3 separate regions of the Homo sapiens genome follow, and regions 2 and 3 are each linked to region 1. Evidence: promoter capture Hi-C in 16 types of primary human blood cells and fetal thymus (Javierre and others, 2016). All regions are on one chromosome and are shown on one strand. The core of a region is centred on a gene start or on the middle of the fragment in contact, and the rest is flanking DNA. Distances in the headings are between cores, read along the strand shown. Region 1 holds the start of NDUFB7 (NADH:ubiquinone oxidoreductase subunit B7). Region 2 has its middle 7.4 kb from the start of OR7A17. Region 3 has its middle 18 kb from the start of OR7A10.

What was found. The method cuts DNA at HindIII sites, captures the fragments that hold promoters and counts their contacts. A CHiCAGO score of 5 or more calls a contact.
Region 2: a contact is called between a fragment that was not itself captured here and the fragment with the promoter of NDUFB7 in region 1, in 4 of 17 cell types (total CD8 T cells, naive CD8 T cells, total CD4 T cells and 1 more). The highest score is 7.5, in total CD8 T cells.
Region 3: a fragment that was not itself captured here is called in contact with the fragment with the promoter of NDUFB7 in region 1 in 2 of 17 cell types (naive B cells and total B cells); the score reaches 6.3 in naive B cells.

The regions. Positions count from the first base shown.
Region 1 is chr19:14,569,789-14,573,696 of GRCh38, reverse strand. It overlaps NDUFB7 (NADH:ubiquinone oxidoreductase subunit B7), which reads left to right and starts at 1,631. Exons shown (of 3, transcript NM_004146.6): 1 at 1,631-1,808. The coding sequence starts at 1,697. RefSeq lists an enhancer at 1,410-1,699. The HindIII fragment of the contact is 3,352 bases long and covers 514-3,865 here.
Region 2 is chr19:14,891,564-14,895,471 of GRCh38, reverse strand. It overlaps the pseudogene OR7A1P. Among named protein-coding and RNA genes, the nearest start is that of OR7A17, 7.4 kb to the right of the region's middle. The HindIII fragment of the contact is 3,700 bases long and covers 72-3,771 here.
Region 3 is chr19:14,865,094-14,869,001 of GRCh38, reverse strand. It overlaps the pseudogene OR7A2P. Among named protein-coding and RNA genes, the nearest start is that of OR7A10, 18 kb to the right of the region's middle. The HindIII fragment of the contact is 3,703 bases long and covers 1-3,543 here.

The sequences.
Region 1 (3,908 bases), core at 382-2,881:
AAAAAGAAAGAAAAAGAAAAGTCTCTATTGCCAGTTGTCTATTCTCAATAGCTTGCTTTTTTCACTTAATATATCAGCAGCCACTTCCCCATGTCAACACATAAAGATCTAGTTGAGTAATTCTCCCAAAGCTGGTCACTAGACCAGCAACATCACATCACCTGGGAATTTTTATAGACAGGGTCTCACTCTGTTGCCTAGGCTGGAGTGCAGTGATGGGATCACGGCTCACTGCAGCCTGGAACTCCTGGGCTCAAGTTATCCTCCTGCCTCAGCCTCCCGAGTAGCTGGGACTACAAGCGTGCACCACCACACCCAGCTTTTTTTTTTTTTTTTTTTTTTGTAGAGATAGAGTCTCCCTATATTGCCCAGGCTGGTCTCAAACTCCTGAGTTCAGGCGATCCTCCCATCTCAGCTTCCCAAAGCTCTGAGATTACAGGTGTGAGCCACTGCCCTGGCCCATATTTTTTTTTTTCCATTAGACTGTTTTTCTGTTCCATTAGACTGTAAGCTTGAAAGACAGGAACCACGTCTGCCTTTCTGTCTGACCACTGGACCCAGCATACCATACAGTAGATGCCTAATACATGCTTTGTCAGACTGGGGAAAAATATATATTAGATATTAATATTAGATATTAATATATTTTAAAATTGTATAAAGATTGCATATATATATATAATTTATTTGAAATTTCAGCTTTAAATAATTGTTTTTGACCAGGCACAGTGGCTTACGCCCATAATCCCAACACTTTGAGAGGCTGAGGCGGGAGGATCCCTGGAGCCCAAGAGTTCAAGGTTGCAGTGAGCTATGATTGTGCCACTGTGCTCCAGCCTGGGCGACAGAATGAGACCCTATCTCAAAAAATAATAATATAATAATAACTGTATTTATGAATAACTTTTATTTAAATTAAATTTATCAAAATCTTTCTTGGACAGGCACTGTGGCTCATGCCCGTAATCCCAGCAATTTGGGAGGCTGAGGCGGGGGAATCACTTGAGGTCAGGGGTTCGAGACCAGCCTGGCCAACTGGCGAAACCCCGTCTCTACTAAAAATACAAAAATTAGCTGGGGGTGGTGGCGGGCGCCTGTAATCCCAGCTACTCAGGAGGCTGAGGCAAGAGAATTTGAGCCCAGGAGGTGGAGGCTGCAGTGAGCCGAGATCGCGCCAATACACTCCAGTCTGGGCGACAGGTACTGTGTCTCCAAAAACAAAAAATTCTTAAAGTGACTTTATGCAAAATTACATACATTAACGATATAATAGATATCGTGCCTTTTTTAAGAGAAATTTGAATGTTTTCAAAGAAAAAACTTTTTGGAAAATGATATGAAAAATAATTTTAATATGTGCTTTAGCCTCGGGCTACCAGAAGAGCCCCAGATAGGGTCGAGGGAGGCCTCAGTCCCACACCGTCCCCTTCTGCCCCGCCCAGATGGATTTCCAGGCTCAGGGAAGTCCCCTCTCGGGTCCAACCATATCCTGCGAAGAGACACAGCACCTGTCCCGCCTCCGCCTGTCCGCGAGGTGACGCCAGGCGGACCGGAGCGATCCTCTGGAGTCCTTCATCTCTATGATCTCCGCAGCTGCCTAAATGACCCGGAAGCTGTGTCTGACTGAGGGGTCAGTGGTTCCGGGTAGGAGCTAGGTGACCCTCGGCTGCTGCAGGGATCTGCAGCGACTGCAGCCATGGGGGCCCACCTGGTCCGGCGCTACCTGGGCGATGCCTCGGTGGAGCCCGACCCCCTGCAGATGCCAACCTTCCCGCCAGACTACGGCTTCCCCGAACGCAAGGAGCGCGGTGAGGCCCAGTGCGCAGGCGCAGCCAGAGGGCGTGGGGCGCGGGTGCCTGAACACCTGGCACCCCAGGGCTGGCACCCCAGGGCTGGGCTCTAACCTCAGGTGTTGTATCTGGGTTTGGGTCTAGACTAGGAGTCCACAGGACGTGCATGACCCCACCTCAGTGTGGAGGCGTTCCAGCCCAAGGGCACGGCTTGAGCAAAAGCCAGGGAGCAAAAGTGAGGCGACAAGTGGGGGTTCGGGCAGGAATGCGACGCGCAGAGCTGGGTCGAGTCTTTTTTTTTTTTCTTTTGAGACGGAGTCTCGCTTTTTCTTTCAGGCTGGAGTGCAGTGGCTTGGTCTCGATTCACTGGCAGCCTCCACCTCCCGGGTTCAAGCGATTCTCCTGCCTCAGCCTCGCGAGTAGCTGTGATTACAGATGTGTACCACCATGCCCAGCTACTTTTTTGTATTGTTAGTAGAGACGGGGTTTCTCCTTGTTGGCCAGGCTGCTCTTGAACTCCTGACCTCAAGTGATCCGCCCGCCTCGGCCTCCCCAAGTGCTGGGATCGCAGAAGTCAGTCACCACGCCCGGCCTCGGGCCAAGTCTTGGGGGACGTGGGGAGTCATGGGAGGGCAGGGACACGTTCATTGTACCCCCTTCCTGATGTCACTGCAATTGTGGGGTATGCACAAGGAAATAAGGAAGATTCGAGCTGCAAATACTGTCCTGCAAAGTGCTTTGTTTTGCTTTGAGACGGGATCTTGCTCTGTTGCCCAGGCTGAGTGTAGTGGCACAATCACAGCTCATTGCATCCTCGACCTCCTGGGCTCAAATGATCCTCCCGCCTCAGCCTCCCGAGTAGCTGGGACTACAGGAGCGCCCCAGGATGCCAGACTGATTTTTTATTTTTTGTAGAGTTGGGGGTCTTGCTGTGTTGCCCAGGCTGGTCTCAAACTCCTGGGCTCAAACGATCCTTCTGCCCAGCCTCCCAAAGTGCTGGGATTGAAGATGTGAGCCACTACGCCCAGGATGGTTTTTTGGTTCGTGTGTTTGTTTTTGCTTTTAATGTAGTAATATCACAGGCATACCGAGCACCAGCTCTGGGCCACGTCCCACATTAGGCACCGCGGATACAGCAGGGAACTGGAGGGATGCAGGCACTGTCTCCAGAGAACTCAGCACAGTGGGAAAGATTGTGGAATCAGGCAGAGCTGGGGGTGTCAAAGCAGGCTTCCAAGAGGCAGTGGCTGGAAACAAAGACGTGAAGGGTGGCCGGTCGTGGTGGCTCATGCCTGTAATCCCAGCACTTTGGGAGGCTAAGGCGGGCAGATCACCTGGGGTCAGGAGTTTGAGACCAGCCTGGCCAACATGGTGAAACACCATCTCTACTAAAAATATAAAAATTGAGGCCGGGCATGGTGTCTCACACCCATAATCCCAGCACTTTGGGAGGCCGAGGCGGGCAGATCACGAGGTCAGGGGATTGAGACCATCCTGGCCAATGTGGTGAAACCCTGTCTCTACTAAAAATACAAAAATTAGCCAGGGGCGTGGTGGTGCACACCTGTAGTCCCAGCTACTCAGGAGGCTGAGGCAGGAGAATCGCTTGAACCCAGGAGGCAGAGGTTATAGTGAGCCGAGATCACACCACTGCACTCCAGCCTGGGCGACAGAGCAAGACTCCATCTCAAAAACAAAATACAAAAATTAAGCCGGGCACGGTGGCTTATGCCTGTAATCCCAGCACTTTGGGAGGCCAAGGCCGGTGGATCACCTGAGGTCAGGAGTTTGAGACCAGCCTGGCCAACATGGTGAAACCCCGTCTCTACTCTACTAAAAATACAAAAATTAGCCAGGTGTGGTGGCGCATGCCTGTAATCCCAGCTGTCTGGGAGGCTGAGGCAGGAGAATTGGCTGGAACCCAGGAGGCAGAGGTTGCAGTGAACCAAGGTCAGGCCACCACACTCCAGCCTGGGTGACAGAGCGAGACTGTCTGAAAAAACAAAACAAAACAAAACAAAGATGTGAAGGGGCATGAGTAGGGGTTGACCAAAGAGAGGTGGCAGAGCCAAGCTTCTAAGCAGAGGAGGGACACAATCAGTTTTGGTTGGTCAAAAG
Region 2 (3,908 bases), core at 672-3,171, 320 kb before region 1:
TTTGGAGTCCTAATCTGGCTGCTTATCATCTGATTAAACCTCACATCTATCTCCCCTAAACATTTGAAGCTTTATATGTTTATATAATACGAAATTATAACCTTAGATACTGTTTCCTCCCCACATTTTAAACATTTTCCTGTGATATTCTTCAATTTCCAAGAGGCGATTTCACAGTGAATTAGTGGTGCATCTTTATGTCAGTAAATTATTACTGTCATATTTTTCTATAAGGATTTTTCAGACTTTCTTTCTATGTTGATTCATGCAGCTGTTTTGAAATAACTATTCTTTTTTAATTTTAATTTTTAGTTCTGGGGTACATGTGCAGGATGTGCAGGTTTGTTAGGTAGTAAACGTATGCCATGATGGTTTGCTGCACCTATGAACCCATCACCTAGGTATCAAGCTCAGCATACATTAGGTATTTTTCCTAATGCTCTCCCTCCCACCACCCCCCCCGCCAGCAGACCTCAGTGTGTGTTGTTCCCCTCCATGTGTCCATGCATTCTCATTGTTCAGCTCCCACTGATAAGTGAGAATGTGTGGTGGTTGGTTTTCTGTTCCTATGTTAGTTTGCTGAGGATAATGGTTTCTGGCTTTATTGATGTCCCTGCAAAGGACATACACCATGGAATACTATGCAGCCATAAAATGAAATAACTGTTCTTAACCTAATAGCATCCTCACTTATATTCTATTCTCCATAAGATTTTAGTTCCTCATAAACCTTCTCTTTACACAAAGGTTTATACAAAGGTTGAGTAGTATGTTATGCATAACACATGTGCTTTTTATATTTGACTATAGGTTTTTTTGTTTGTTTGTTTGTTTTAAGGCTCATCTTCCCTTGTCCTTTCTCAGTTGATAAAAGGTATGGAAATATTTTGTGATTTTTATGTTAAAAATCGGTTCTTACCCAGGGGTGGTTTTGTCTCCCAGGGGACATTGAGCAATGACTGGGTTGGCTGTCACCCTGGGGAGGGTCAGTAGAGAACAGGGAAGCTGATAAACATCGTACAATGCACAGGACAGACCCCAGCACAATAAATAAGCTGGCCCAGAAGTTCCTTTTGTATTTCCTTTTTGAATAGTTGATTTTTATCATTTGCTCATTTTTTTTTCCATGGGGATTCTCAATCTATCAGTATCTTGACACAGAAAAGATATCACCATGTTTGATATTTGGTAAATTTCCCTTTGTCTTTTCTGATTTTTGCTGGGCCTCAGGGATATAAGAGGAGTTGGAATGTTTTCAAAACTAAGGAAGCCTTTTCTTCCTTAAGGTCTCTGAGGGACTATGTGAGCTTATTAGATTATTTTTCCCTTCAGTTCCAATCGATTTTCTCTCTCTGCCTCTCGGTTTTTTGTTTGTTTGTTTGTTTTTGAGACAGAGTCTCGCTTTGTCACGCAGGCTGGAGTGCAGTGGCGCTCGAGGTTCCATATGCATGAGAAGTTTTCAAACTGGAAATTCTAGGTACCATATCTGTATCTTCTTGGGGAAAGATAATTTGATATTAACAGCTTGCCTGGTATCCATTCCTTTCTAATACTGTGAGTGGGATGAGAAGCGTGAGGGGGTAACATGGCCCCAGGAAGCCATGGCTGCCTGTGTGGGTGCGTTCTCTGTGTGTGTGTGCACGTGTGTGGGTGCACAACTTTAGAGTGAGCACAGGTTTCAGAGATAGGGAACCTGATCTCTATATTTCAAAAGGTAACCCATCAGATAAAGGCCACATCTCAGGAAAATATCAGTAAACAGAATGAGCATGCATTGCAGTTCATGAAACACCTTTGCAGCCAAATTAAAGGCATCAGTATCTGGACAGAGGGACTCTTTGTGTCTTCAAATTTCAGCAGCTATGAGGACACTTCCTTCCCTAACATCCTCCGACAGCCCTCGCCTCTTGCTCATTCCCCGGCCACACTGTCTTCTTCGCAGTCCTCAAATATCTGAAAGAAGCACATTCCTCGGGGTCTTTCATTGATCATTTTGCTCCATTGCACAAACTTCTGCAGGGAACGTAGTGCCCTCCACCCTGTCTTCATTATGGGCTCTCTTCATTTGTCACCTTCTCTGCTGGTCCTGCCTGAACACCCTGGAAAATCTATTACCCCATCCACTCTTTCCTTCTAACCTCCTTCTTCATAGGATGCATCACCATCTGATATTGAGGATGGCATTTTAAAAACATACTTGTATTTTTCATTCATCATTAAATTGTAGGAAGTTATTTATTTATTTATTATTTTATTTTATTATTATTTTTTAAAGACAGGGTCTCACTCTGTTGCCCAGGCTGGAGTGCAGTGGCATGATCTCGGCTCACTACAATCTCCACCTCCTGGGTTCAAGTGATTCTCATGCCTTAGCCTCCCAAGTAGCTGGGATTACAGGCATGCGCCAGCACGCCCGGCTAATTTTTTTTGTATTTTTAGCTGAGACCGGTTTTTGCCATGTTGGCCAGGCTGGTCTCGAACTCCTGACTTCAGGTGATCCGTCCACCTTGGCCTCCGCGAGTGATGAGATTACAGGCGTGAGCCACTGCAGCCAGCCCATATTAACTTCTTGACTGTAGAATATAAGTGAGAATATTTCTGATATGTTTGTAATGCATGCTTGTGTCATGTTCTCTTTCTCTCTCTTTTGGAAGTCACATCAACAAGATGAAACCAGGGAATGAGACACAAATTTCACAATTCCTTCTCCTGGGACTTTCAGAGGAACCAGAATTGCAGCCCTTCCTCTTTGGGCTATTTCTGTCCATGTACCTGGTCACCGTGCTCGGGAACCTGCTCATCATCCTGGCCACAATCTCAGACTCCCACCTCCACACCCCCATGTACTTCTTCCTCTCCAACCTGTCCTTTGCAGACATCTGTTTTGTGTCTACCACTGTCCCAAAGATGCTGGTGAACATCCAGACACAGAGCAGAGTCATCACCTATGCAGACTGCATCACCCAGATGTGCTTTTTTATACTCTTTGTAGTGTTGGACAGCTTACTCCTGACTGTGATGGCCTATGACCGGTTTGTGGCCATCTGTCACCCCCTGCACTACACAGTCATTATGAACTCCTGGCTCTGTGGACTGCTGGTTCTGGTGTCCTGGATCGTGAGCATCCTATATTCTCTGTTACAAAGCATAATGGCATTGCAGCTGTCCTTCTGTACAGAATTGAAAATCCCTCATTTTTTCTGTGAACTTAATCAGGTCATCCACCTTGCCTGTTCCGACACTTTTATTAATGACATGATGATGAATTTTACAAGTGTGCTGCTGGGTGGGGGATGCCTCGCTGGAATATTTTACTTACTTTAAGATACTTTGTTGCATATGTTCGATCTCATCAGCTCAGGGGATGAATAAAGCACTTTCCACCTGTGCATCTCACCTCTCAGTTGTCTCCTTATTTTATTGTACAGGCGTAGGTGTGTACCTTAGTTCTGCTGCAACCCATAACTCACTCTCAAATGCTGCAGCCTCGGTGATGTACACTGTGGTCACCTCCATGCTGAACCCCTTCATCTACAGCCTGAGGAATAAAGACATAAACAGAGCTCTGAATCGATTCTTCAGAGAGCAGAAACAGGAGGGCCATTTTCCAGAAGTTCTTGAGATTTCAGAGCTCTAAATCCCCTAGCCAGAAATTATGATTCATGGATCAGATTGTGAAAGTAGAATTTTCTCCTAGTATTTATATTCTGGACTTTAGATTTCTTTAACCTTGACGACATTAGAAAATTTACACTTTTTCTTAATAAAGCTTTCTGCTCTGATATGCAACTGTTTTTGTCCTCTGTCATTTTTCTAAAATTACATCCAAACTAGGTCCAGAAACAAATGGAAGTTTTTCTCATACAGGGGTGAGTTATATTCATCCCAAAGAATTAACTACGCTTGGC
Region 3 (3,908 bases), core at 443-2,942, 300 kb before region 1:
CAATATTTCCAAACTAAACATCTGAAAAATGGTTATCTAGAATGTATTTTAAAACTCAATAGTGGGAAAAAATAATCTGATTAATAAATAGGCAACGACCTGAGGACACTTTTTTCAAAAGAAGACATACAAGTATACAATGGTCCATGAAAAGTGCTCAAAGTCACGAATTATCAGGGAAATGCAAATTGAATCCACAATGAGATACCACGTCATCCCAGCTAACAGGGCTATTATCAAAAGACAGGAAAAATAACAAATGCTGACAACGATATGGAGAAAGGGGAAATCTTATACATTGTTCATGGAATGTAAATTAGTATAGCCATTATGGAAAACAGTATGTACGTTCCTCAAAAAGTTAAAAATAGAATGCGACTCAGGGATCCCACTAGGTATTTATCCAATGGAAATGACAATAGTGTATTAAACAGATATCTGCACTTTCCTGTTTATTGCAGTGTCACAATAGCCAAGATATGAAGTCAATCTAAGTGTACCTTAGTGGATGAATGGATATTAAAATGTGGCATATGTACATAATGGAATACTATACAGCCCTGTGTAAGAAGGAAATACTGTGATTTGCAACAAAATGAAAGAACCTAGAGAGCATTATGTTAAGTGAAATATTCTAGGCACAGAAACACAAATATCACATGATCTTAATCATATGGAATATAAAAAAGTTGATCTCATAGAATTATAGAGTAGAACAGTGGCTACCAGAGGCTACAGCTGTTGTGGGAGGAGGAGTGGGGAAATGTTTGTCAAAGGATACAAAATTGCAGCCAGAAAAAATACGTTCAGCAGATCTATAGTATAGCATGAAGATTTTATATTTAAGGATGATATATGGTGTTTCTGGAAAATGTTAAGAGAGTGGATGTTAAGTGTTTTCACTACAAAAATGATAACTATGTGAGGTAAAACATATATCCATTAGCTAGACCTAACCATTCTGTAATGTATATATACCTCAAAATGTGATGTTTTTTGTGATAAATACAATTTTATCTGTCAATTTAAATAAATAAATTTTGAAAAATTAAATTAAATAATCTTTAGAAGGTGCTATTCTCAGGGCAACTTGCATGAAAAGAGCCAAATATATCTCTTAAGAGTAACCAGATGTTTTATACATGAAGAATTAAATGACAGCTCTTAACCTTTTTAAGAAGTACAAAATTTCTCATTGTTTTGGCAAAAGCATCATGATTTCAAGAAATGTAGGACTCACGGTTTTATATCAGAACAGAGTTCACCCCCTTGTTAAAGAGGAAAATAGCGATAATTCTGGAGATATCAAGGGCTGTGTTCCCATCACAAGTGAATACCTTGGAGATGCAAGGAACATAGTTAAGACAAGTTCCTTAGTTTAGACTTAGGAGAAAACCTTCCCTCGGGAATGAGGAATAGAGTAAGGCATTAGGAGGTTAGAACTCTGGAAGGCAAACAAGTCCATGGAGAAGGAATAATAAAGACTGGATTCACTGCAGGCTTAATATGGTGTCTTGGGAATAGAGAATACAGGGAAAAAATCAATTCAGAGCAGGGTAAAATCCCAAAGGAAAATGATCTGCTCAGGGTTGGAATAACAAGAGGAAATGCACCTAATGTGCAAATCTGTAAGTACCCCCTTGGCTGTTGTCACTTAGCATATGCAACCTTGGGCTGGATGGGACATGCTTGTGTTTTTTGGAGTCTAAATCTGCTGGCTTGGGCACCGATGCTTTCCTTTCTCCTACTGTCTTGTCTCGGGACAGAGCTTCCATCTCCACCAACAACCATTCAGGGAGGAATTCACACTTCCACATGGAGGCTTTTCTTTCAGAAAACCAGTCAAGGTAAGTCAAAGAGTCCAGTAGGTACTGCGGGAAAGGGTCAGGGAGAATGGGAGCTGTGAACGTGAACCTAAGGCTACCTGAGAGCCAAACCAACCAGTGCTAGAGTGGAGAGATTGTTGTGGTTGTTTGCTAACTTGCCTGACTAATTAATTGATTCAGGTATTTACTTAGGATACTAAAAAGAGACATGAACATTGAATTCAGCATTGGAGGATGATTGTTGACAATGAAGTAATAGTAATAGAAGCCCAATTAGAAGAGGAAATGAGATGATTAAAGTGGCTCCAGTAAAAGTAGCATCCGTGCCCAAGGATCTTTACAATTAAGTGAAGATGAAAAATAGGGTACTACTGTAATAGTTAAAGAAACATGAAAAGCAGCTCAACGGTTGAAGACAGGTTTATTTTGGAGAACAAACCTGAGAGGGGCTTCTGGCTGAGTTAGGTCAGAGGTACTCTCTTTCTTTTTTTTTTTTTTTTTTTTTGAGACGGAGTCTCACACTGTTGCCCGGGCTGAAGTGCAGTGGTGCAATCTCAGCTCACTGCAACCTCTGCCTCCCAAGTTCAAGTGATTCTCCTGCCTCCACCTCCCAAGTAGCTGGGACTACAGGTGCCTGCCACCACGCCCAGCTAATTTTTTGTATTTTTAGTAGAGACAGGGTTTCACTATGTTGACCAGGCTGGTCTCAAACTCCTGACCTCATGATCTGCTTGCCTCAGCCTCCCAAAGTGCTGGGATTACAGATGTAAGCCACTGTGCCAGCCAAGGCACTCTCTTACAGACTAAGAGTTTTTAAGGGTTCAAGGCGGGAGAGCTTATCACCGGCTTGGAATGTTTCTGTGCCTCTTTGTCTTGCTTACCTGGAGAGAGAGTTTTTGTGTCTGTTCCCGTACATCTTCTTGCAGCTGCAGGCATACCCCCCAAGTCTGCTTTTAGCTTCCCTATCTTAGTGCACCTAAAGGGAAAGGAATGTGCTTATTAGAGCCCACTGTTTTTCTGGGGCCCACTGTGTGAGTGCCAGGTTTGGTGGTTACCCAAGAGACTTTCCCCCTCCCTCTATGCCCGAGCTGTCTTATCTGTGTTTTACTGTCTGCTCTTTCTGGCTGCTTGTTGTTAGAAGAGAAGTGATTTTCTTAAGATGCATGAGGTTAGAAAAGGAGCTGGAACTTAAAGTGGCGGTTGTCCAAGATGATGGTGCTCCTGCTCTGTCAATTACCTGTGGAGAGATATACACTGAAGAGAGGGATTTGTTTGTCTGTTCGTTTGTTTGTTTTTAAGAAGGGGCATATTTGACTGTCTTTCCATATTGGTGAGAAAGATCCAGACCAATGAATTCCTTTCAAAAACTACCTGACAACAGCAGTCATGAGGTATACATTTTGTAGTATCTTCTCTCATGCTAAGTATTCAAATGAAATCAAAAACTTATTTAATGGGTGAAAAAGTGAAATACTAACAAACTTTGCCACTTTTTTTTACTAGTGAAGCTAAATATATCTGTGTATTTGTTAGACATTTACAGCTATTGCAAACTGTACATGAACTTTCCTTTTGTAAAATGGGTTTGTAATATTTTTAATCCTGTTTTATTTCATTTATCAAAATATAAGACTTGGAGTTCTTCATCAATTTTGGCATATGTCTTTTATTACTGTTATGTAACTTTCAATGTATTTGAGGGAAATGTGTGAAAGCTTAGAAGTATTGTGTAGCCAAATCCATTGATCATAGTGTGCTCCCCTCCTTGCTACATAAATGTAGAAAGTTCTTCTGCAACATTTGGACAAATAAATTGCCTTTTATGCATGCATTTCCAACTTGTTTTCTCTCTTATTTTTTATTGTGCTTTTTGGCTTTTTGTATTAGATCTCTTCTTAGAAGTTGCATTACCTTTGACCATCATTTGGTGATCATTATTTATCATCTGACTAAAGACCACCTTTCTCATAAATATTGGAATCCTTATATCATTATATAATATGAAACCATAACCTTAGATACTACTTCTTCCCATGCTTGTAATCCCAGCAGTTTGGGATGCCGAGGCGGGTGAATCACCTA